Regions from separate parts of the Homo sapiens genome. Here regions 1, 2, 3, 4, 6 and 7 are each linked to region 5. Evidence: promoter capture Hi-C in 16 types of primary human blood cells and fetal thymus (Javierre and others, 2016). All regions are on one chromosome and are shown on one strand. Each heading gives the region's core, a stretch centred on a gene start or on the middle of the fragment in contact. The rest is flanking DNA. Distances are from core to core; before and after follow the strand shown. Region 1 has its middle 20 kb from the start of RNASE1. Region 2 holds the start of TRY-GTA5-3 (tRNA-Tyr (anticodon GTA) 5-3). Region 3 has its middle 7.2 kb from the start of TRT-TGT5-1. Region 4 overlaps LOC107984671 (a long non-coding RNA gene). Region 5 holds the start of CCNB1IP1 (cyclin B1 interacting protein 1). Region 6 has its middle 11 kb from the start of EGILA. Region 7 holds the start of RNASE1 (ribonuclease A family member 1, pancreatic).

Region 1 (3,375 bases), core at 63-2,562, 490 kb before region 5:
CAGCCTTTGTTCATCCCTTAGCGGATGTGTGGTGGTATTGTGGACCTTTACCGGAAGCTCTGCCAAATAACTGGAGTGGCACTTGTGCTTTAGTACAATTGGCTATCCTTTTCACCCTGGCATTTCATCAATCGGAGGAAGGAAAAATAAGACATTGTAAAGCAAGAGAAGCCACTTACGGGTCTTTCGACTCACATCTATTTAAATGCAATTGGAATCCCATGGGGAATACCAGATCAATTTAAAACCTGAAATCAAAGAGCTGCAGGATTTGAGTCAATATTTTGGTGGGGGACAATTAATAAAAATGTAGATTGGATAAACTACATCTACTACAACCAACAGCAATTTATTAACTACACTAGAGTTGCTGTTAAAGGAATAGCTGAGCAATTAGAGGCTACTAGCCAGATGGCTTGGGAAAATAGGATAGCCTTAGACATATTAGCAGAATGAAGAGGAATTTGCATCATGATTAAAACTCAATGTTGTACCTTCATCCCAAACAACACCGCCCCTGATGGAAGTACAACAAAGGCATTGCAAGGTCTGACTGCTGTGTCCAATGAGTTAGCCAACAACTCAGGGGTAAATGACCCCTTTATAGGAGGGCTAGAAAAGTGGTTCAGTAAATGGAAAAGGATAATAGCCTCAATTCTTACTTCCCTCACAGCCGTAATGGGTGTACTTATTCTTGTCGGGTGCTGTGTCACACCATGCATCCATGGGTTGGTGCAGAGGCTCATAAAAATGGCACTCACTAAAACCTCCCTTAACTATCCTCCACCTTATCCAGAGAAGCTTCTTCCTTTGGAAAATCAAGCAAAACAACTAAGCCGAGACATGTTAAAGAATTTTGAAGAGAAAAAACTGTAAGGAAATATAAGAGGAGGGGTTGTTAGATATGAGTTCTAAATTTCTCTTCAAAGAATCAGTATGTCAGTATGTTCGTATGTTCAATTCTTTGCCTTCTACTTTTAACTTCCTCGTAAAGCAACCTTTTTCGATTACCTGCTCCACCCTGACTCATTCCAATTACCTGCTCCACCCTGACTCATTCCGATTACTTCCTCTGCCATAACCATTTTCCCCACCAAACCACTCACCCTGTCACTCTCTTTAAATTAGCCAGTCGGAATTAGTTTAGCCTGTGCGTTCTAACCCTAGCCAATAGAGGAACGACACAGCAGCAGGGGCCACATGCGTCAGGGATAAGAACCCCTTTCCCTCCCTTGTCCAAGTGTGTGCTCACCATTGCTCCATCTGTAAGGGTGCACCCTTCTATAGAAGTACATTGCCTTGCTGAGAATTAAAAAGAACATTTTATATTCGAGTGCTATTTCTTTTGTGGCACCAAAACTTTATTTATAACTAGGGGTTTCACCATGTTGGCCAGGCTGGTCTCAAACTCCTGACCTCAAGTGTTCTGCCCGCCTTGGCCTCCCAAAGTGCCGGGATTACACACGTAAGCCACTGTACCTGGCTGGCATTGGTAGTTTTTAAGAGCTTCCAAAAAGATTTATCGAAAAGTCTCATCAAGTTATAAGTAGCAGAGCTGGGGAAAAAACACACTTTTTTTCCCTGACCTTTTATATTACCTGAGCTATATTTATTACACCACTTCTCTGTTTTTGAAAATTCACCTTTCTACAGTAGCAGTCATTAATTGTTGCCTTTTTATTGGAGAGCTAGGCTTCTCATTTATTCTTTTTCAGATGATATTGTACACATCATGACACCTTTCTGAAACCACCTTTGCAAAATTATGACCGAGACAGTGAAACAGATCTAACCTAACTAACTCTATCTTGCTTTTAAGCTTTAAGCTGTCCTTGTTCATTCCCGGGGTAGGCTGAACTAACTTTGGGAGAAACTTGCTTTATGGTTTGTAGTTTAAAACAAAGACAATAACAACCCTTTCCTAAAGCAGACCTCCTTCTTGCCTGGGGACTAGATTCACTTTGTAGGACTAACATTAGCCACAATATTAGAAATTATGGTTTAGGAGTCATGCAGCTGGAGGCTACAAGATTCTGACCCTCCCTAAACTCCTCCTAAGATCAGTGCTTGAGATATTTTGCTGACCCTGCACTTGATGGATCAGCTGGCACCACCCAGATTGATAAACTGGCTCATCTGATCTTGTGTCCCCCACCCAGGAACTGACTCAGTGCAAGAGGACAGCTTCAGTTCCCTATGGTCTTGTTTCCTAACTGACCAGTCAGCACTCCTGGCTCACTGGCTTCCCCCCACCCACCAAGTTGTCAGTAAAAACTCTGCTTCCCTGAATGCTTGGGGAGACTGATTTGAGTAATAATAAAACTCCGGTCTCCCACACAGCCGGCTCTGTGTGAATTACTCTTCCTCCATTGCAATTCCCCTGTCTTGATAAACTGGCTCTGTCTAGGCTGTGGGCAAGGTGAAACCACTGGGTAGTTACATTCCTCCTTCATGAAAAACACATTCCATTTCTTCCACAACCACCTTTTGATTCTGCACCATGTCTAATATTTTTTGTATAGTATTTTCTTTGTTTCTAGTCAGTTAATCTTCTGTGACTCCGTAGCCTTCTACAATGAGACATTAATTTACTTGACATGTATTAATTGGAGACCAACTGTATACATGGCACATGATCAGGAGATATGTGTGAATAAAACACCCTTTCTGTTCTTGAAAACAGTGTAATTTGGGAGACTGAGAAGAAAGAATTCCCACTGAATGTGAGACATGGTATAATAAAGTGTGAAATGCTGTGGAATCACAGATAAAAGAGCAGGCAAGGGCACGCTATTGTTTGACACAGAAGAAAAAATGGTCTCTTGCTCTCCTATTAGAAGTGAAATACCTTTTTTTTTTTTGAGACAGAGTCTTGCTCTTGTTGCCCAGGCTGGAGTGCAACAGCACGATCTCAGCTCACTGCAACCTCCACCTCCCTGTTTCAAGCGATTCTCCTGCCTCAGCCTCCCTGGACCTGGGATTACAGGCTCCCGCCACCATGCCTGGCTAATTTTTGTATTTTTAGTAGAGACGGGGTTTTGCCATATTGGCCGGGCTGGTCTCAAACTCCTGACCTCGTGATCTGCCCGCCTCGGCCTCTCAAAGTGCTGGTATTACAGGCGTGAGCCACCTCGCTGAAATACCACTTTTATAGAAGGCAATTGACATTATCTAAAGCCTTATCAAAAGTCCATGTTCTCTAAACACATCTAGGAATATATGCCAAGGAAGTAATTGGGCAAGGTGTAGTGGATGCGGTGGTGCATGTCCCAGTTCCCCCACTTCAGGAACACGGCACTCATTCCCTCCACTGACTAGTGATGGTGATGAACAGCTAGCTCTCAGCTGAGTCTCTTTCTCTCTGGGAATAGCCCT
Region 2 (3,410 bases), core at 23-2,522, 320 kb before region 5:
GAAATATCGCTGAATTCCTTTTCTCAGCATGGAACGTCCCTGAGAAAGAGAATGCGCACCTAGGGGTAGGTCTCTGAACTGGCCCCCCCCGGGGCGTACCTGTCTCTTATGGTCGAGATTGCAGAGGTGAAATAAACTCCAGTCTCCCATAGCACTCCCAGGCTTATTAGGAAGAGGAAATTCCCGCCTAATAAACTTTGGTCAGACCGGTTGATCTCAAAACCCTGTCTCCTGATAAGATGTTATCAATGACAATGGTGCCAAAACTTCATTAGCAATTTTAATTTCACTTCGGTCCTGTGGTCCTGTGATCTCGCCCTGTCTCCACTTGCCTTGTGATATTCTATTACCCTGTTAAGTACTTGATGTCTGTCACCGACACCTATTCGTATCTCCCTCCCCTTTTGAAACTCCCTAATAAAAACTTGCTGGTTTTTGTGGCTTGTGGGGCATCACGGATCCTACCAATGTGTGATGTCTCCCCCGGATGCCCAGCTTTAAAATTTCTCTCTTTTGTACTCTGTCCTTTTATTTCTCAAGCCAGTCGATGCTTAGGAAAATAGAAAAGAACCTACATGATTATCGGGGCAGGTCCCCCGATATAGTGACACACACCAGATAAGATCTGAAACATTGTCAAACACATGGGGTCAGGGTAAGCAGTCCAACACTGACACTTCTGTCTTCTACTTCACCCATCCCCTATTTTTTTTTTTTTTTTTTAGACAGGGTCTCTTCTGTCACCCAGGCTAGAATTCAGGGGCATAATCATAGCTCACTGTAGCCTTGAACTCCTGGCCTCAAGCAATCCTCCCACCTCAGCCTCCCAAGTAGCTGGGACTACAAGCTTGTGCTACCACACCCAGCTAATTTTTGTAATTTTTGTAAAGATAAGGTTTTGCCGTGTTGCTCAGGCTGGTCCTTGCCCCTTTGCTTTTTCAGAGCCCACAGAGCCTTGTCCTACTTCTAGAAGTTGCAAGTGGCAAAATATTTCTGATTGGTTTGCAGAGGAGGGAAGCCAACCACCAGATTGGCCCCGAGGGAGGAGGGGTATTACATGTGCCTCTGCAATCCCTGGGAGGGGTCTCCTCACCTAATTCTATTTGTTCTTTCCCTCACTTCCCAGTACACCTCAACGGGCCAATACGTGAACTTAGGATACTGTAGGTAGAAGGCAGAAAGCGCATCGGGAGGAAGAACGGGGGTGGGGGATGAGGGGGTGGGAGAGCAGTGGAAGGTGTAGGGAGGTCAGAGTGTTAGGGAAGGGCCTCATTACCGGCCACCACCAGACCCTGCGGCTCGGCTGGGGTTGGAAGCCTTCTACCAGTGTCCATTCCAGGTCTCCTCCTTTCTCCTCCAGCAACCCTTCCCTCACCGGACCCCCGCACCCTGCATCCACCTCGCCAACCCCTCTGCCTCTCACCCTCTCACTTTTTTTTTTTTTTGCCACTGAGGTCTGTCATCCTCACCTGTAGAAAGGGGGATGCACAGGAGGAAGAAGATAGCAAGTGAGAGCACACTCCCACCACTACCCCCACGCCCCCTACCCGGCTCGCCCCTCATGGGTCGTTGTTATCGATGCCGGGGAAAGCCAGTCAACCACAGCCAGAGGATTTTGTTCCGCCGCAAAAGGAGCGCGGTGGCGATCGGCGCAGGATTATCTCTCTAAGGCGAGTTCCAACCAACTTAAAGCTTATTGGACGACTAGAGTTGCAAGGAGTCTTGCATTTGCTGAAAGATCAATGACCCAACCCCAGAAACGTGCGCCCTTCGATAGCTCAGCTGGTAGAGCGGAGGACTGTAGCCTGTAGAAACATTTGTGGACATCCTTAGGTCGCTGGTTCGATTCCGGCTCGAAGGAGCTGCCGTATTCTTTTGCACACGCACGCACCAAAACTACGTGGCTGCATCTCTGCCTGGTCAAAGGCTTTGCCAGCCAGCATCCACACTCTCCCAGGAGAAACCTAGCAAGGCCTTTCCGGATTACCCAGCTTCCCACAGCCTATGCTGTGGCCTTGGGAGTCTGCTCATTCTTCAAGTCATTGCTTTCTCTACTATCTTCAAATTTTTTATATAATCTGGGATTTTTATCTCCAAGTCATTGATTTTTATGGCCATTAGGTGACACTATAACTGATATTCTTATGAAACTAGATGAAATATTTGAATAACATGTTAGAAAATTGAATTCATGTATATTAAAACAATGTCTTAACAATTATTTACATTTACATATAAGTTCTATTTCTTTCCTTGCTCATAAATTTTTTGCATCTCACTGTTTTGTGATTTTATTTTTTATTTTCAGGAGTTCAACCTTGAGCAATTCCTTTAGAATGCATCCATGGATCTTAATGAAGATATAAGTTCTAGAACACCCCCCAACCAAGTGCCCTCAATGTAAACTCTCTTTTGACTGCTATTTATGCTGAAAATAGAATTGGAGGTATTATGGGCTGAACTGTGTCTTTACAAAATTTAATATGCTAAAGCCCCAATCACCATACACCAGAATGTGACTATAGGATAGCACCTTTAACATGGTGATTAAGTTAGAGGCTGTTAGGGTGTGCCATAATCCAATCTGACTAATACCCTTATAAGAAGAAAAAAATCTGGACACAGAGAGACACCAGAGATGTATGCAAATAAAGGATGAACTGTGTAAGGACAGAGAGAGAAGGTAGCCATCTGCAAGCCAAAGAGAGGTCTCAGAAACCAGTAGCTTGATCTTGGGCTTCAAACCTCTAGAATTGTAAGAAAATGAATTCCTGTTGTTAAAGCTACCCTGTCTGTGGTATTTTATGATGTTAGCCCTAGAAAACCAATATACTAGGCTCAAAATCATTTTCCCTCTTACTCCTGAAGATAACTGACATTGTTCTTGTTACACAGAGTTTTCATTGATGATGAAACTGATTTTTCTTATTTTATAGATAATTTTTTTTCTTTTACATTTCAGGAAGCATTTAAGCTTTTGTCTTTATTCTTGGACTTTGGAGACATCACCAAGGTGTATATAGTTGTGGGTATTTTTATGTTTAATACTGTTCACTGCATGGTCTCCCAAATTTCAGAAGTGTCTTTCTTTAGTTCAGAAAACTTATTTATTCTTTCTTTATTTTATCTCCTCCATTTTTGTTATTTTCTGAAGTTCCTTTTAGATATATGTTGAGCATCCTGGATTTAACTTCCATGTCTCTTAATATTTCTCTCATATATTTCATCTCTTAGTTCTATATTCTAGAAGATTGTCTTCAGCCAAGCCTCTTATATACGGTTATGTGTCACTTAACAACAAGGATATGGTTTAAGAAATGCATCATCAGGCGATTTCATTATTGTGCAAACATAGTGGAGTATACTTACACAAACTAAGGTGGTATAGTCTACTACACAGCTAGTCTATA
Region 3 (3,185 bases), core at 561-3,060, 340 kb before region 5:
AGGAGGCGACAGCTCATGTTAGCAGGTGGTGATGGAATCTGACTGGCCGGTGCCTTAAGTAGGCAAGTGATAAGTTTATCCATGTGGCTCTTTACTGTAGTCATCCCTGCTGTAGAGGGCTGTCCTGGGTATTGCAGGATGCTTAGCGGAACCCCTGGCCTTTCCTCACTACATGTCAGTAGTAATATGCCCTCCCTACCCAGCTGTGACATCAAAATTGTCTCTAGCCACTGCCAAAAGTCCCCTAGGAGGCCAAGCCATCTCTGGAGATGACTATCTCCCAGTGTGTAGCTTGTCTCTTACAGTGTCTTTACCAAGGCAGAGGTTTCTTAATTTTAATGAAGTTCATTTAATTGTGTTTTTCTTTTGTGAGTCATACTTTCAGTGTTGTATCTAAGAAAACTTTCCCCAGCACAAGTTGACAAAGATTTTATTATAAAAATTTTAAAGTTGTGGGTTTTATTGGTAGGTCTGTGATCTACTTGAGGTTCATTTTTATATGTAGAGCAATGTAGGGATCAAGAATCTTTTCTTAATTAGCCGGGCATGGTGGCACGCAACAGTAGTCCCAGCTACTTGGGAGGCTGAGGCAGGAGAATCGCTTGAACCCAGGAGGGGGAAGTTGCAGTGAACCAAGATTACACCACTGCACTTTAGCCTGGGCAACAGAGTGAGACTCCGTCTCAAAAAAAAAAAATTTGTTGTTGTGATTTTTCTAAAGTTTGCTGAGAAAACTACCTTTCTCCACTGAATTGCCCTTGAAGCTTTGGCAACAGTCAATTAACAATATGTATGTGGTTTTATCTCCGTACTCCTGATCTATTGTTCTGTTGTTTTAAATTTCTTAATGCCAGTATGACACTGTCTTAATTATAGCAGTTTTATAATAAATACAATAAAATATAAATAAGTCGGGCAGAGTGAGTCTTCCAACTTTGCTTTTTCCAAAGATGTTTTGGGCATGCTGTCTTTGAATTTGCAAATGAATTTTGGAATTAGCATGTCAATTTCTTTAAAAAAAAAAAAACCCTGTTGGGATTTTTATTGTAATTAGATTAAATCTATAAATAAATTTAGGGATAACAAATATCTTAACAATATTGAGTCTGTTCATGCACAAATATGAAATGTCTCTTGATGTATTTAGGTTTCCTTTCATTTCTCTTAGCATTTTTTTCAGTGTACAAGTCTTGGACATATTTTATTCCTAAGTATTTTATATTTAATTACTCTGTTGTAAATTGTACTGCTTTTTAAAATGTCAATTTTCACTATTACTAGTACACACAATTATACATATGTATATACAATTTATAAAATAATTATGCCAAGCCTGGCCAACATAGCAAAGCTCCATTTCTACAAAAAATGTTTTTAAAAAAATTATCCAGGTGAGGCTGGGCGTGGTGGCTCACACCTTTAATCCCAGGAGTCCATTCAGTCGGTTGTGGGTGCTTAAAATTAGTTTGGCTTAAAAATCATTCATTTTCAACCCTCAGAGGCTAACTTGAGGTACATATTCTAAAAGTATTAGCTTCTTTGTGACAGAGCTTATAGAAAAGATGGGACAGAGATGCTGCTCCCAGCACCAGCATAATTGCCTAATGGGTTCATCTTGCCCCTGCCCAGAAAAGCTGATTTACTGAGACAGTGTTATTGCAATGAAGAGTTTAGTAAATGCAGAGCCAACTAAATGGAAGAATGGAAGACTGGAGCTTTGTTATTACTCCTATCAGCCTCCCCGAAAATTCAGAGGCTAGGGTTTTTCTTTTTTTGAGACGGAGTCTCGCTCTGTCACCCAGGCTGGAGTGCAGTGGCGCGATCTCGGCTCACTGCAAGCTCCGCCTCCCGGGCTCATGCCATTCTCCTGCCTCAGCCTCCCGAGTAGCTGGGACTACAGATCCCTGCCACCACGCCCGGCACATTTTTTGTATTTTTAGTAGAGACGGGGTTTCACTGTTTTAGCCAGGATGGTCTCGAACTCCTGACCTCGTGATCCGCCTGCCTCTGCCTCCCAAAGTGCTGGGATTACAGGCGTGAGCCACCGCGTCCGGTCGAGGCTAGGGTTTTTCAAGGATAGTTGTGAGACAGCCAGGTGGAAGGGGGTCCCCGCAGACTCCCCGACCAGCCTGCGCACTGGGACGAATGCGCACTGGGGTGGAACCTCGGGAAGTTAGTGCCATTCGCAGCGAGGAGGAGCCTGGCCCCATCTCTTCCTGGGAGGAGCCTGGGATTTGAAAGCCTGGGCGGCAAGTGCTCTAGCAGGGACTCTGGCCTAGCAGAGTCCCCCTTTTCTTCCTTTTTCACCCAATAAAACCCTGTCTTACTCACCATTCCAATTGTCTGCGAGCCTGAATTTTCGTGGCCGTGGGACAAAGAACTCTGTCTTGAGCTGAACTAAAGAAAAGTCCCGCAACATTTGGGCAGGCAGGGGAATGCTGATTAGTTAGGTCAGAGATAAAATCACAGGGAGTCGGAGCTTGCCTTCTTTCACTGAGTCAGTTCCTGAGAGGGGGCCAGTTTATCGATCTCGGTGACGCCAGCTGATCCATTCAGAATGCAGAGTCTGAAAAATACCTAGAACAGCAATCTTAGATTTTTACAATAATAATGTTATCTATAGGAGCAATTGAGGAGGTTAGGATCTTGTGGCCTCTGGCTATATGACTCCTGAGCCATAATTTCTAATACTGTGGGCTAAGTTGTTGCTTTTACAAAGGAGGTCTGACCCCCAAGCAAGGAGGGGGTTTGCTTCATGAAGGGGCTGTTGTCATGTTTGTCTGAAAGTTAAACTACAAACTAAATTCCTCCCGTGGTTTGCTTGGCATACGCCCAGAAATGAGCAAAGGAAGCTTGGAGGTTAGAAGCAAGATCGAGTTGGTAGCCGGGTGCGGTGGCTCACGCCTGTAATCCCAGCACTTTGGGAGGCCAAGGCGGGCAGATCACTTGAGGTCAATAGGTGGAGACCAGCCTGGCCAACATGGTGAACACCCATCTCTATTAAAAAATACAAAAATTAGCCGAGCGTAGTGGTGCACGCCTGTAATCCTAGATACTCGGGAGGCTGAGGCAGGAGAATCGCTTGAACCCGGGAGGCGGAGGTTGCAGCGAGCCGAGGTTGCGCCACTGCACTCCAGCCTGGGCAACAGAGCAAGACTCCGTCTCGGAAAAAAAAAAAAAAAAAG
Region 4 (3,316 bases), core at 122-2,621, 440 kb before region 5:
TACACATGCACACAGGAGTATTACATAATGCGTAACTTGCTGAATAGCCAGAGGTAAAGTTATATATCAACTTTAAAAAAAGTGTTTTTGGCCAAGTGCAGTGGCTCATGCCTGTAATCCTAACATTCTGGGAGACTGAGGCAGGAGGATCACTTGAGGCATGGAGTTTGAAACCAACAGCATAGCAAGACCCCCATCTCTATTTTTTAAAAAAAGATTTGGCCGGGCATGGTGGCTCACACCTGTAATCCCAGCACTTTGGGAGGCCAATGTGGGCAGATCACCTGAGGTCAGGAGTTTGAGACCATCCTGGCCAACATGGTAAAACCCCGTCTCTACTAAAAATACAAAATTTAGTCAGGCATGGTGGTGGGCACCTGTAATCCCAGCTACTCGGGAGGCCGAGGCAGGAGAATCTCTTGAACCTGGCAGGCGGAGGTTGCAGTGAGACAAGGTTGCGCCACTGCACTCCAGCCTGGGCAACAAGAGTGAAAGTCTGTCTCAAAAATAAAATAAAATAAAAAATAAAAGATTTTTGTTGGGGCTTCAAAAGGAAAATATGGAAGGTTCTAGTAAGCTTTCTGATGCTAATAGAAATGGGTAGATTGATTTCTTCCTGGCTGGAAGTTTCCCTGTATGGGGGTTTATGGAAGCTAATTTACACATCCCAGTGCTAAGGGGCTGTCTCGTTTCAAACAGGAAAATACCTTTGAAGGGGATCAATGGCAGCTGAATTTTCAAGAGGCTCTGGTTAAGTTTAAATAGTGTTTCTTTCTGCAGCTTCTGTCTGTTCAGACATTTTCAGTTTAAAATAATTTTCATGCCACTATCATCATAACAGATTTGTTACTTGATGCACAACAAATGGATATATTAAGAAAACAGGGATTGAAAAAGAGAGAGTTTAATTTTCATAGGGCAGCCAAATGAGTAGATGGGAGGTAACCTACAATTTGGTTTTGGGTTTGGGGATAGGGTTTTTAAGGAGTCTGGACAAGGGCCAAAATGTGAGCATTTCTGATTCATCAAGAAGTGAGAGGTGAAGTCATGGGACAGGGACATGAAGAAACTCAGCATTCATGTGCCAAGCCAGTTCCTTGGTAGGGGTCTTTAGACTGGTTAGCATTAGCTGTTGCACTGGAATTCAGGATCAGAAAAACACCTTAAGCAATTCTTAAGCAAAAAGATTTCATGATTCTAGTATTGGAGATTCTACCTATAGGAACAATCGGGGAGTAGGTGGTCAGCATGCTACTTGGGAAATTAGAAGCTACAGGGAAGTGGGTTGAAGTGTACCAGCATGCTATGATTAATGTGCAATTCTGCCTAGAGCCTGGCTTGCAACACTCCATAACTCTGCAAGGGCAGTTTTGCCATATTGGTGGGCTGTGAATCCCTTCAATCTGTCATTAGAAAATTGCAAATTAAAACAATGGGATAATACTACACACCTACATGAATGACTAAAATGCAGTGAAAACTGACATCATCAAAGCCAGTAAGGATGCAGAGCAGCAAAAATGCTAATTGACAGGACTTTCAACCTGGAGGCATATTTTGGGGTGACATATTCTTGTTTCCTATGAGACTTCAGTTAGGCTAGCTTGGATCTCATAACCATCGCTTGGCTCAGTAGAGGGGACTGCAGACCTTAGTGGACAGCCTCACCAATACTACACACAAAAGAGGAAGGGTAGATACCTAAGGAGAGTCAATATGCAGCTATCCAAATAAGGGGTGGACCACCGGGAAAGCCAGAGAAACAACACAAAGCTATTACTAATTGCCCTTAAATCTACTTTCCTCCTATACTATTTTGAACAACCATCTGCTAACCCTTTAATAAAAGCAAGTTTTAAAGAGTTACTTAAATGAGGTATTTGTGAGAATCTACTATAGGAGACCAGAATATGCCACCCCAAAATATGCTTCTTTATTATGAATATTATTTTGAACTGCTTATTTTGAGAAGCAGTATACACAAGACAAACTCTGAAAATAGAGTGCACGTTGCTGTTTTGTAAGGGACATTTGCGTTTATAAGGGAAATCTTCATTTGTAAGGATGTCTCCCTTTCTTCACCAGAAAGAGAAAGGTGACTCTAAATCAAAAGAAACCCTTATCAGCGGAGAAGGTACTGACTTAAATCTGCATGAGAAAGCTTTCCCTTGTTTACTGTACTTTTCCTGGTCATCCCCCTGTAAGTTGCTCCCCGACATGCTTCTTCCTTTGCTTTAGCGGAAGGCATTTAAGCCCAAGTTCTAGCCACCTCTTTGAGTTGCTTTCTGAATTTCTCTCATGTATGCATGAGATGCACATGTTACTAAACTTCTATTTTTCTCTTGTTAATCTGACTTTTGTTTCGGTGGCCCCAGCCAAGAACCAAAGGGGTAGAAGGAAAATTTTTTCCTTCCCTACATACATTTTGAAGAGCGTTTGTCAACTGAGAAAAACAAACAGTATTGTTTCTTCTCATATGTATATTGATCCTACATGCAGAGCTACTGGTTTAATACTAGTCTCTTCTGAGTTTGGTTGGTAGAGATTGTCATCCCCAGGTGTCTGCTCCTCCCCAGGTGCACTCAAAAATTGCAAAGCTGAGGAACTGCCTTATACGCTGGCTACTAGAGTTATAGGAAAGTGTGCAGTCACTTAATAAATAATGTTGACACTTTGGTTTTTCTTTAATTGTTTCAAGGCCAGAGTCATTCCACATTGTAGGAGTCTGAAGAACACAAGGTACTTTATTGTTTAGCATTTTCCCTGGCCCATACTGCTCCAGGGAGAATTGTATGAAGTAAACATTTCTTACTTTGCATCTCACTCCTGCAATTAGCAAACAGAATTTCTCGACCTGCTTGTGAACCCTATTTTTTTTTTTTTTTTTTGAGGCTGGCTGGAGTCAGTGGCACAATCCACTTAACCTGCTTGTGAACCAATTTTTTTTTTTTTTTTTGAGGCTGGCTGGAGTGCAGTGGCGCAATCTTAGCTCAATGCAACCTCCACCTCTGGGTTCAAGCGATTCCCCTGCCTCAGCCTCCTGAATAGTTGGGACTACAAGGGCGTGCCACCATACCTGGCTAATGTTTTTCTTTGTATGTTAGTAGAGATGGAGTTTCACCATGTTGGCCAGGATGGTCTCAATCTCCTGACCTCATGATCCACCTGCTTCAGCCTACCAAAGTGCTGGAATTACAGGCATGAGCCACCGCACCTGGCCTTCCCAACACTTTTTTATCCCATTTATTTCCTCTTTCCTACAACAAAATTTAAGTCTTAAGCTCCATTCTTGAGCAGTATTGCAGTTTAAAGTCTT
Region 5 (3,513 bases), core at 307-2,806:
AGTGCTTACATTCTTGGGTTAATGTGAAGATTAAACAAGGTAATGAATATTACATTTCTTGAATATTTATAGTAAACATTCAAGAAATGTTTTGACTCTAGAAGTTACAATAAATCAATTATGAAATAACAAATTAGCATTTGATGCTAAATGTTGGGAAATTTGGGGCAGGTAAACTCTAAAGTGGATTGGAATAGGTAATTTCTAGTAAGGTGGAAGCAGGGTGGATAGGATGAAATGATTAAAAAATGAGAACTACTATGAGTTAGAGTTGTATCATTTCTCCATATAACTTGAATCTTTATACTTCAAACATTTGCACATTACATGTATATTTGTACATATAACACATACTTGTATATATATTCCCTATTACTATAATAGTATTTATTAAGAATAATGATGAATATTGTGCCGGGGAGTCCTCTAATTATGGCTTAAAAAGAAATCTTTCAGCTTGGGCAACATGGCGAAACCCCATCTCTACAAAAAAATACAAAAATTAGCTGGGTGTGATGGTGCACGCCTGTAGTCCCAGCTACTTACTGAGGCAGGAGATCGCTTGAACCTGGGAGGTCAAGGCTACAGTGAGTCGAGATTTCACCACTGCACTCCAGCCTGGGACACGAAGTGAGACCCTGTTTCAAAAAAAAAAAAAATTTAACAGAGTAAGAACCTATACTTTAACTGGAGGGCGATGTGAGGAGTCAAAATAATTGATTAATCAATTATGTCCTCAGCATTGAAAGTCATTGTTTTTGTCTGGAGATGTGTAAAACGTACACTTTGATCTCCAGTTGTTTATAGTCTACTTGGGAATATAAATCTAACAAGAAATATGTAATAACAATAATAACAGCTAACATTGTTGAGTACTGTGTACCGGGCATTGTACTGAGTACATTATATAAATTATTTTACTTAATCCTCATAACCATCAGAGTAGGAAGATTTCATCTTTTTTCCCTCTTTTTATAGTTGGAACTGAGGCTTAGATGTGTGCAAATAAGTGGCAAGGTTCAGATTCAAAATCAGCTAAATTTTATTTGAAGCCTAAAACACTTAACCCACCTACCTTTTATCTACTAAGCCTGTTAGTTCAAAGATTACCTGAAGGTAAATTTTATCAGGCCAGCTTTGGATCTGGGGGGAAAAAATGAAGGTAAATTTTAACTTGAATCGATCTAGACTGTTTATAATGGAATCTGTTGCCTAGCATAAGTTAAGCATGTTGAGGTCACAAAGGATAAGAAATTACCCTTAAGGGATGAAAATTCTTTAGAATAGAATGCAGTAGGCCCACGCAAACAACAACGTGTATAAATAGCTTAAATTAGCCTGTTTTTGCCTAAGTACATTAACTCAAAAGGAAACTCGGTTTAAGAAGTTCACTCCAAAAATAGTGCAAGAAGCATCACTGGTCCATAAAGAGGGGTGGAGTGGGTTACGTCATTTCAGCACCTTTTAAGGTAAAGGAGGAGGGAATCCTCTTGAACTCATTAGCCAATCAGGTTCTGAAGACACTTCCCAAGGCGACTTCCTGTCTCTCCACTTTCTTTCCCTCTCCGTTTTGGTGGGCTGGTGAGTGTGCGCTTAATTTTGCTCTCTAATTGTTTTGAATTTCTCTTCCATTTGAGTTATATACCCAGGTGGCAGGCCTTTATTTCAAGTCGGCATAGGAGTGTGTGTGAGTCGCAAGGAGATTAATTTCGGCTGTGTGGAGGTTGGGAGAAGGCAGTGAAATGCTCTTCCTGGCTTGTTTCCACGTGGGCCTCTGCAGTACTGGGTTTGCCTTCCGTCTCCGAGTCCTGGTGACCCAGGAACAATAGACTGTGCTTCATGTGCACAGTGCGTGTGTTCTTGGAAAACGCCGGCTTCATTTTGCTTGGCGGGAAAGATATTATCATCCTAATGCTGTTTTGATTTATATCTCCCTGGGTGAGGTCAGATTTCGGGAGAAGGCGTTCAGCTCAGTAGAGTTTAATTCTCCGGTGAGTGTCTAGAGGGCCCAGGTCCTTACTGGGTTTGTGGAAGCTGCAGCGTACCTTGTCTTTCTCCTGGCCTTCGCTCAGATCATTTCGGCTTTCTTGGTGAACCTGGGCAGCAAACTCTGAAGACAGATAAGCCTTAAAAGGAGCTCCTAATTTTTAATGTTGCCACTGTGGTGATTGTGTCCTTAAAAGCTATGGAAAAAGATTAGGGACCTTAGTTCAGGGCAAGCCTCTAGATTTAAATTCCAGCGCCACAGTTTACAGCTCTGGTGACCTTGGGAGAAGCAGTGAGCCATTCCGAGGCTTAGCTTTCCAAGATCAGATAAAATATATAAAAACTAGGCTCTAGTTGGTGTGTAATAAATGTTAGGTACCTTTAGAAGTAAGCAGTACTTATTTATTTACAGCAAGTATTTTGGATATCTGTTTTCTCATAAAAAGTTTGCTTAGTGACCTTCAATGTCATTTCACTGAATTCCTTTCTTTTGGTACATGTTAATTTTAATGTGATGTTTGTGTTGGATATTCTTATAGGCAGAAAGTGTGAGAAAGACAAATAATAAACCAGTTAATCGAATGTAGTAATAGGTATTTGTAGGCCTCCCATAATTTTTATAATTCTCAAGCATTGTTAAAATTTATTTTTTGGGGCATGGCGGCGCATGCCTGTAATCCCAGCTACTCGGGAGGCTGAGGCAGGAGAATCGCTTGAACCCGGGAGGTGGAGGTTGCGGTGAGCCGAGATCGCGCCATTGCACTCCAGCCTGGGCAACAAGAGCGAAACTCTGTCTCAAAAAAAAAAAAAAAAAAAAAAAAATATATATATATATATATATATGTATACACATCATATATATATATATTTTTGAATAGGTAATACATTCACATGGTTCAAAATTCAAAAGATATCAAAGTTTCTTATCCCCTTCCCTAAGCCATCCAATTCCTCTCCCTCATAACAGTGTTACTAAGATATTTTATGCATATAAGCAAATATGTGTAGGTATCCTTCCCTTTTACTATACCTACTCTACTATGTGTCTTACTTTTTCCACTTAAGTTCCATGAGTAGAGTGTTCACATTCTTCATAATGGTAACATAGTATTCTTTAAAAATTATTTTTTTTAAAAAATATATTTTTTCAGTAGGTTTTCAGGGTATAATGGTAACTCAGTATTCTAATTTATGTACCTACTATAATTTATTTAGCTTTTATCAGTAGGTATTCAGATAGTTTATGATCTTGATATTTCCCCCTCAAATGAATAACCTTGTAAATCAGTCAGTTGGCATAAAGGCATTTCAATTGGGTTTTGGTATATTCTTGTTTAAAAGGACTCTAGATATTTTGCAGTGCTTCCTATTTATATTTATTTTGTACACGGTGGTGATTAGAAACCAATCAATACTCTAAACTTGATTGAGCAATAAAGGATTTTCTACCGAAAGGAAAATCATCTTGATGGCTTTTATGTGAATATATCTTTGCCCACTTTGGTTTGAGTGGGGATGGTTTATCTT
Region 6 (3,122 bases), core at 396-2,895, 380 kb before region 5:
ACACAGGTTGGTTCGTGAGGTTTAAGGAAAGAAGCCATCTCCATAACATAAAAGTGCAGGATGAAGCAGCAAGTCCTGAGGAGAAGCTGCAGCAAGTTCTCCAGAAGCTCTAGATAAGATCATTGATGAAGGTGGCCACACTAAACAACAGATTTTCAGTGTAGATGAGACAGCTTTATAGTGGAAGAAGGTGCCATCTGGGACTCCCATAGCTAGAGAGGAGGAGTCAGTGCCTGGTTTCAGAGCTTCAGAGGGCAGGCCAACTCTCTTGTCAGGGGGCACCTGCCACTGGAGACTTCAGGTTGAAGCCAGTGCTCATGTATCATTTGAAAATCCTAGGGCCCTTAGGAATTATGCTGAATCTACTTTGCCTGTCTCTATAAATGGAACAACAAAGCCTGATTGACAGCACATCTGTTTACATCATGGTTTACTGAATATTTTAAGCTCATTATTGAGACCTGCTCAGAAAAAAAAGATTCCTTTCAAAATACTACTGCTGATTGGCAATGCACTTGGTTACCTAAGGCCTCTGATGGAGATGTTCAAAGATATTAATTTCCATAGTTTCCATGCCTGCTCACACAACATCCGTTCTGCAGTTCTGCAGCCCATGGATCAAGGAGTAATTTTGGCTTTCAAGTCTTATTACTTCAGAAATACATTTCATAAGACTATAGCGGTCATAGATAGTGGTTCCTCCAATGGATCTGGGCAAATAAATTGAAAATATTAATTCAAATAATGGAACTCATTTCACTGCACATATCATTAAGAAATTAGCCCAAGCACTAGACATAACGTGGGAATACCATACTCCTTGGCACCCACCTTCATCGGGAAGAGTAGAAAGAATAAATCAAACCGTGAAGAGTCACTTAACCAAATTAGTCTTAAAGACTCAGTTGCCATGGACTAAATGCCTTCCCATTGCCTTGCTAGGAATCTGAACCACCCCTCAAAAAGATGTTGGCCTATCCCCATATGAGATGCTATATGGGTTGCCCTATTTACACTCCACTGCTGACATTTCCACCTTCGAAACAAAAGATCAGTTTCTCAGACATTATATACTTGGTTTATCTTCCACTTTCTCTTCCCTTAGAACTAAAGGTCTTTTAGCACAGGCACCATCCCTGGAGTTCCCAGTACATCGAAATCAGCCCGGGGATCAAGTCCTCATCAAAAACTAGAAGGAGGAAAAGCTGGAACTGGCCTGGGAAGGACCTTATCTAGTGCTCCTAACTACTGAAAGCGCAGTCCAGACAGCAGAAAAAGGATGGACCTATCACACCCAAGTCAAGAAAGTGCCGCCCCCTCCAGAGTCGTGGGCCATAGTCCCAGGGGAAAACCCTACCAAACTAAAGCTAAGAAATTTTTTTTTTTTTTGAGACAGAGTCTTGCTCTGTTGCCCAGGCTGGAGTGCAGTGGTGCGATCTTCACTCACTGCAACCTCCACCTCCCGGGTTCGAGCAATTCTCCCGCCTCAGCCTTCCGAGTAGCTGGGATTACAGGCGTGTACCACTACGCCTGTATAATTTTTGTACTTTTAGTAGAGATGGGGTTTCACCATGTTGGCCAGGCTGGTCTTGAACTCCTGACCTCAAACGATCCACCTGTCTCGACCTCCCAAAGTGCTGGGATTACAGGCGTGAGCCAAGCTAAGAAAAATTTAACTCTCTTATTACTCCTTCTTCTTTCCTCATTCTATTGCTGACCACCTCATTATTAATGTAACAAAGTCAATTTCACCTCAAACTATTACATTTGATGCTTGCCTTGTTATACCTTGTGGAGACTTGTCAAGTTAAAGACAGCTCTCCAATTCAGAAAAGTACCTCTGTCCTTCCCGGCTCTCCTCAGACTGGACATTAGTGAATGGGGATCATTTAGTCTGGAGAGATTTCAATAAAGACCCCAGTATCAGCTGGGAGTCTTGCTCCTGCAAGACAGAGCTTTTATGCCACAGTTGGTCCAACATTCTGTGGACCACTAAAGAGCAAGGATGAGCTGCCCCAACCAGTGGTTGTAATTTCCTAAAGTCATATATTCACTTTACTAAAGGAACAGCTTCACCTAGCTGTCAGCTGAACCGTGCAATCCAATACAGGTTATTATCTCAAACCCTCAAAGCTCTTCCCCTTCTCTAAGCCGGTTCCCTTCTTTAAGCCGGTTTTATGGTGTGGGGGCTGAGGTTTCAGGAACAGACCCTATCAGATCCTTTGAAACACAATTCATTGATCCTCTGCCGCCTACACCTTCCCTTAAGCCTTCTTCCAGAAGCTCTCACAACAAAACTGTTGTTCTCCTCCATCTAATGACAAGACCAAGGTAGTTATTATAGAAGTTAAAGACCTAAAACAAACTTTGGCAATTGAGACAGAATATCAAGATGCTAATGCCTGGTTGGAGTGGATCAAACATTCCATCCACACTTTAAACAAAAGCATTTGTTATGCTTGTGCGCACGGCAGACCAGAAGCCCAGATTGTCCCCTTTCCATTAGGATAGTCCTTTAGTCTACTAGGCATGGGCTGTATGGTTACTTTTTTCCAGGATTACACAGCCTGGGGTAAAAAGTCGTGTCAAGCTCTCTCTGCTATATCCTGAGGTTCAATACCCTGCAGGTCAGCCCCCAAGGTCCACTCAGCTTCTGTCCCCTGACGCTAAGTTCACTTCATATCTCTCACTACAGGGAGGAAACTTAGCATTCCTTGGAGACCTAAAAAGATGCAGTGAGCTTAAGACTTTCCAAGAGCTTACCAATCAGTCAGCCCTTGTTCATCCCCAAGCATATGTATGGTGGTATTGTGGTGGACCTTTACTGGACTCTCTGCCAAGTAACTGGAGCAGCACTTGTGCTCTAGTTTAATTGGCTATCCCTTCCACCCTAGCATTTCATCAACCAGAGAGAGGAAAAATACAACATCATAAAACAAGGGAAGCTCCTTATGGGTCTTTCAACTCCCACATTTATTTAGATGCAATTGGAGTCCCATGAGGAGTACCAGATAAATTTAAAGATCAAGATTAAATAGCTGCAGGATTTGAGTCAAGATTAAATAGCTGCAGGATTTTGTGGGTGACAATTAATAAAAACATAGATTGGATAAATTACGTCT
Region 7 (3,183 bases), core at 253-2,752, 470 kb before region 5:
CTAACCAAACCATCCCACCAGGCGCCCTTCAGGTGAGTCCTGTGCCTTATTTATGTCTGTATCCCACAGTCTAATGAATGAATGAACACATTCTAACTTGACTATTCAAGAGAATAAAAGTATTATTAAAGACTCAGAAAAATAAAATACAGGTGGGGGCTGGGGGAGTAAGGAAACTGTAGGGGCCAAGGAAAAATTCCCCTTTCACCCTCCAAAGGTTTGCTGAAAATCAACTGACAAAAGACAGATTGATAGGAAAAAACGCATACAAATTGATTTGATCGTAGTTTTACACGACACGGGAGCCTTCAGAAGACCCAAAGATAACAGGGGAAAGTGGGCATTCTTACACTTGGATATCAACAAAGTATGAACAGCTGTGTAGAAATATGACTGGACAACAGGGCGATCTAATGAAAATAGACTGAGTGGGGAAACCCAGCAAGGCCTCCCTGTCTAGATTCTTCTTGGCCTCTCTGAGCATTCGTCCTTTTTTTCTGGGTATGGGGGGCAGGACCCTCTCTGGAATGAGGATCTTACGACCTACAATCACACAAGGTAGGTCAGATAATTTCACTATGGCCACTTTTTACACAGAAAGGCTGAAACAATCTGAATACACAGCACGAAGGGATATTTTGATAATTCTTAGAGGTATCCAAATTGTTACTCAGCAAAAAAACAGGTCTCTTTCTAGGAGGGCATTCTGCTGCTAATAAATATGATATTCTTTGTATTTTTTCCCCAAAAAGAATTTGAGATTTGGGATTTAAGTTTATCTTTAGTTCCTCTACTCAATTCCGACCTACAGGGTCAGTGGTTACTGTAGATAAGAACAGCCCCATCCTCTCGATGCCCCCAGAGCAGGGGTGGAGGGTGGGTGGGAAGTGGCCAGAACTGGGTGAGCGCACCCTAGAGGCCTCCTCCTCCTCCCTATTCAGTTACTCCCCCTTTCTTCTCCAGATCTGGGAAGCCTTCCAGCTGGGGGCAGCAGGACAGCCTCCATTCCCCCCGACCCCGCCTCCCATCCCCGGGAGAGGTAGCGTTGGGAGAATGCCCTCCTAGAAAGAGACTTGGGTTTTGCTCCCTAGGAGCCCTGGAATAGCTTTGGCCAGAATTCCCTATCTCCCATTAGAACCTCTCCTTTGCGTCCTTTGTTAACCTCCAAGTCTACTTGGTGAAAACGCCCACGAAGAAGTAACAAGGACTTTGTTCCTAGTGTGCCAGGTTTGGGCACCAGTGCTGTAGTGGCTTTCTCTGCTGCTCCTTGTGCATCAGCAGACAGATGTGGTTCACATAGGAAGAAAGACTAACGTAGGCAAAGATTTGCTCTTTCTTCAGCAGCCCTAGAAAGACGGCGGCCTGGGTGATTCACCACTCCTTCCTCACGTCCTTGATTTTATTTGAACTGAGCTCCAGATGCTCCTCCCACCCTTTTCCTCTTGGAAGCCAAACCCCTTTGTAATCTGTATAAGGTCCACACCCCGGGAGCTGAGTGATTGCAGAAACTGGCCTTCCATCTCTCTCAGACACCAAGCTGCAGATCCAGGTAAGCAGCCCAAGAGGTGTTCTCAGGTGCCGCTTCTGCTTCAGGGTTGCAGAAGAGGGAGCTAGGGCCAGTCCACAGCACTGAGAAAGATTGGGTGATGCTAGCGCTGAAAAAATGTGGCCCAGGCAAACATCAGCTGGGGGCAGAGGGGTCAGGGTGGAACGTGCAGGCTGCAGAGCATCCATGGGACTGGAGAAGAAGGAGCCTCCAAATTGGGGGAGGCCAGCGTTTCTCTCTGGAATACAATGGAATCTTTTATGATGCCAGTGTCAGGCACTGGCCTGAGTTCCCTTATGCTCCAAGACAACAAGGCTCTGTCACCCATGGCCCTGGATGTCGGGGATACAATTTGGTTCATGATTTATTCAAACTGATGTTTCGATGAGCCATTTGAGCACTGGGTACAAATGTATTTTGGATCAAAGAAACTCCAGTATTCAAAGATAGGAACTGACAGGATTTTAGGTCACTTTGTAGGTCACCACCTAGAGGGGAGGAAGACCTCGCTTTGGAGAGTGGGAATAAAACGCTCGTGGAAAAGGGTACACGTGAGTGTCTCATTACACGAAAAACCTCAGGAAGTAGGATGGACGTCTTTCTGGCTGACCTGAAACAGAAAGTGTAAACCAGGCAAGCCATAGGTGGGAGCTGGAGTTCTTTTTCTAAGAGGGCTCTTTTCCTTCTCTCTCCTTTTCTCAATTAGGCTTTTCTGGGAAAGTGAGGCCACCATGGCTCTGGAGAAGTCTCTTGTCCGGCTCCTTCTGCTTGTCCTGATACTGCTGGTGCTGGGCTGGGTCCAGCCTTCCCTGGGCAAGGAATCCCGGGCCAAGAAATTCCAGCGGCAGCATATGGACTCAGACAGTTCCCCCAGCAGCAGCTCCACCTACTGTAACCAAATGATGAGGCGCCGGAATATGACACAGGGGCGGTGCAAACCAGTGAACACCTTTGTGCACGAGCCCCTGGTAGATGTCCAGAATGTCTGTTTCCAGGAAAAGGTCACCTGCAAGAACGGGCAGGGCAACTGCTACAAGAGCAACTCCAGCATGCACATCACAGACTGCCGCCTGACAAACGGCTCCAGGTACCCCAACTGTGCATACCGGACCAGCCCGAAGGAGAGACACATCATTGTGGCCTGTGAAGGGAGCCCATATGTGCCAGTCCACTTTGATGCTTCTGTGGAGGACTCTACCTAAGGTCAGAGCAGCGAGATACCCCACCTCCCTCAACCTCATCCTCTCCACAGCTGCCTCTTCCCTCTTCCTTCCCTGCTGTGAAAGAAGTAACTACAGTTAGGGCTCCTATTCAACACACACATGCTTCCCTTTCCTGAGTCCCATCCCTGCGTGATTTTGGGGGTGAAGAGTGGGTTGTGAGGTGGGCCCCATGTTAACCCCTCCACTCTTTCTTTCAATAAAACGCAGTTGCAAACACCTGATTTCTGAAGCGGTTCTGTCTAGGTACTGTTTCTGGCATTGCCTTCCAGCAAGGGGTAAGAACTGTAAATCTGATTCACTTTGGAGAACGGTGAATGGAGTAATTAAATGCCTTCCCTTCTGACTTGGATTTTAGTGGCTTGAGAAAATTCCTTTCCTTGTAGATTCCCTGATGCCAAACATAAAACTGTTAAG

The links. Contacts are between HindIII fragments. The CHiCAGO score rates a contact against its expected background, and 5 or more counts as called.
Region 1: a fragment that was not itself captured here is called in contact with the fragment with the promoter of CCNB1IP1 in region 5 in 1 of 17 cell types (naive B cells); the score reaches 5.0 in naive B cells.
Region 2: a contact is called between a fragment that was not itself captured here and the fragment with the promoter of CCNB1IP1 in region 5, in 13 of 17 cell types (total CD8 T cells, naive CD4 T cells, non-activated CD4 T cells and 10 more). The highest score is 15.5, in total CD8 T cells.
Region 3: a contact is called between a fragment that was not itself captured here and the fragment with the promoter of CCNB1IP1 in region 5, in 17 of 17 cell types (naive CD4 T cells, naive CD8 T cells, non-activated CD4 T cells and 14 more). The highest score is 29.8, in naive CD4 T cells.
Region 4: a fragment that was not itself captured here is called in contact with the fragment with the promoter of CCNB1IP1 in region 5 in 2 of 17 cell types (neutrophils and naive B cells); the score reaches 7.3 in neutrophils.
Region 6: a fragment that was not itself captured here is called in contact with the fragment with the promoter of CCNB1IP1 in region 5 in 1 of 17 cell types (naive B cells); the score reaches 6.6 in naive B cells.
Region 7: the fragment with the promoter of RNASE1 here is called in contact with the fragment with the promoter of CCNB1IP1 in region 5 in 3 of 17 cell types (erythroblasts, neutrophils and total B cells); the score reaches 5.5 in erythroblasts.

What each region holds. Positions count from the first base shown.
Region 1 is chr14:20,820,714-20,824,088 of GRCh38, reverse strand. No RefSeq gene overlaps it. Among named protein-coding and RNA genes, the nearest start is that of RNASE1, 20 kb to the right of the region's middle. RefSeq lists enhancers at 2,065-2,359, 3,305-3,375 and a cis regulatory region at 3,170-3,375. The HindIII fragment of the contact is 1,018 bases long and covers 804-1,821 here.
Region 2 is chr14:20,651,550-20,654,959 of GRCh38, reverse strand. TRY-GTA5-3 (tRNA-Tyr (anticodon GTA) 5-3) reads left to right here and starts at 1,768; the gene lies at 1,768-1,861. It overlaps LOC124903281 (a long non-coding RNA gene), which reads right to left and starts at 1,648. Exons shown (of 2, transcript XR_007064059.1): 1 at 1,470-1,648. The HindIII fragment of the contact is 845 bases long and covers 850-1,694 here.
Region 3 is chr14:20,672,916-20,676,100 of GRCh38, reverse strand. No RefSeq gene overlaps it. Among named protein-coding and RNA genes, the nearest start is that of TRT-TGT5-1, 7.2 kb to the left of the region's middle. The HindIII fragment of the contact is 2,088 bases long and covers 767-2,854 here.
Region 4 is chr14:20,774,095-20,777,410 of GRCh38, reverse strand. All of the region lies in intron 1 of LOC107984671 (a long non-coding RNA gene), which reads left to right. Among named protein-coding and RNA genes, the nearest start is that of RNASE6, 5.5 kb to the left of the region's middle. RefSeq lists an enhancer at 1,873-2,476. The HindIII fragment of the contact is 1,584 bases long and covers 580-2,163 here.
Region 5 is chr14:20,331,322-20,334,834 of GRCh38, reverse strand. It overlaps CCNB1IP1 (cyclin B1 interacting protein 1), which reads left to right and starts at 1,556. Exons shown (of 7, transcript NM_021178.5): 1 at 1,556-1,581. RefSeq lists an enhancer at 1,477-1,786. The HindIII fragment of the contact is 11,464 bases long and covers 1-3,513 here.
Region 6 is chr14:20,716,628-20,719,749 of GRCh38, reverse strand. No RefSeq gene overlaps it. Among named protein-coding and RNA genes, the nearest start is that of EGILA, 11 kb to the right of the region's middle. The HindIII fragment of the contact is 3,886 bases long and covers 1-3,122 here.
Region 7 is chr14:20,801,163-20,804,345 of GRCh38, reverse strand. It overlaps RNASE1 (ribonuclease A family member 1, pancreatic), which reads left to right and starts at 1,502. Exons shown (of 2, transcript NM_002933.5): 1 at 1,502-1,549; 2 at 2,253-3,118. The coding sequence starts at 2,278. The coding sequence ends at 2,748. All of the region lies in intron 3 of LOC105370397 (a long non-coding RNA gene), which reads right to left. The HindIII fragment of the contact is 7,079 bases long and covers 1-3,183 here.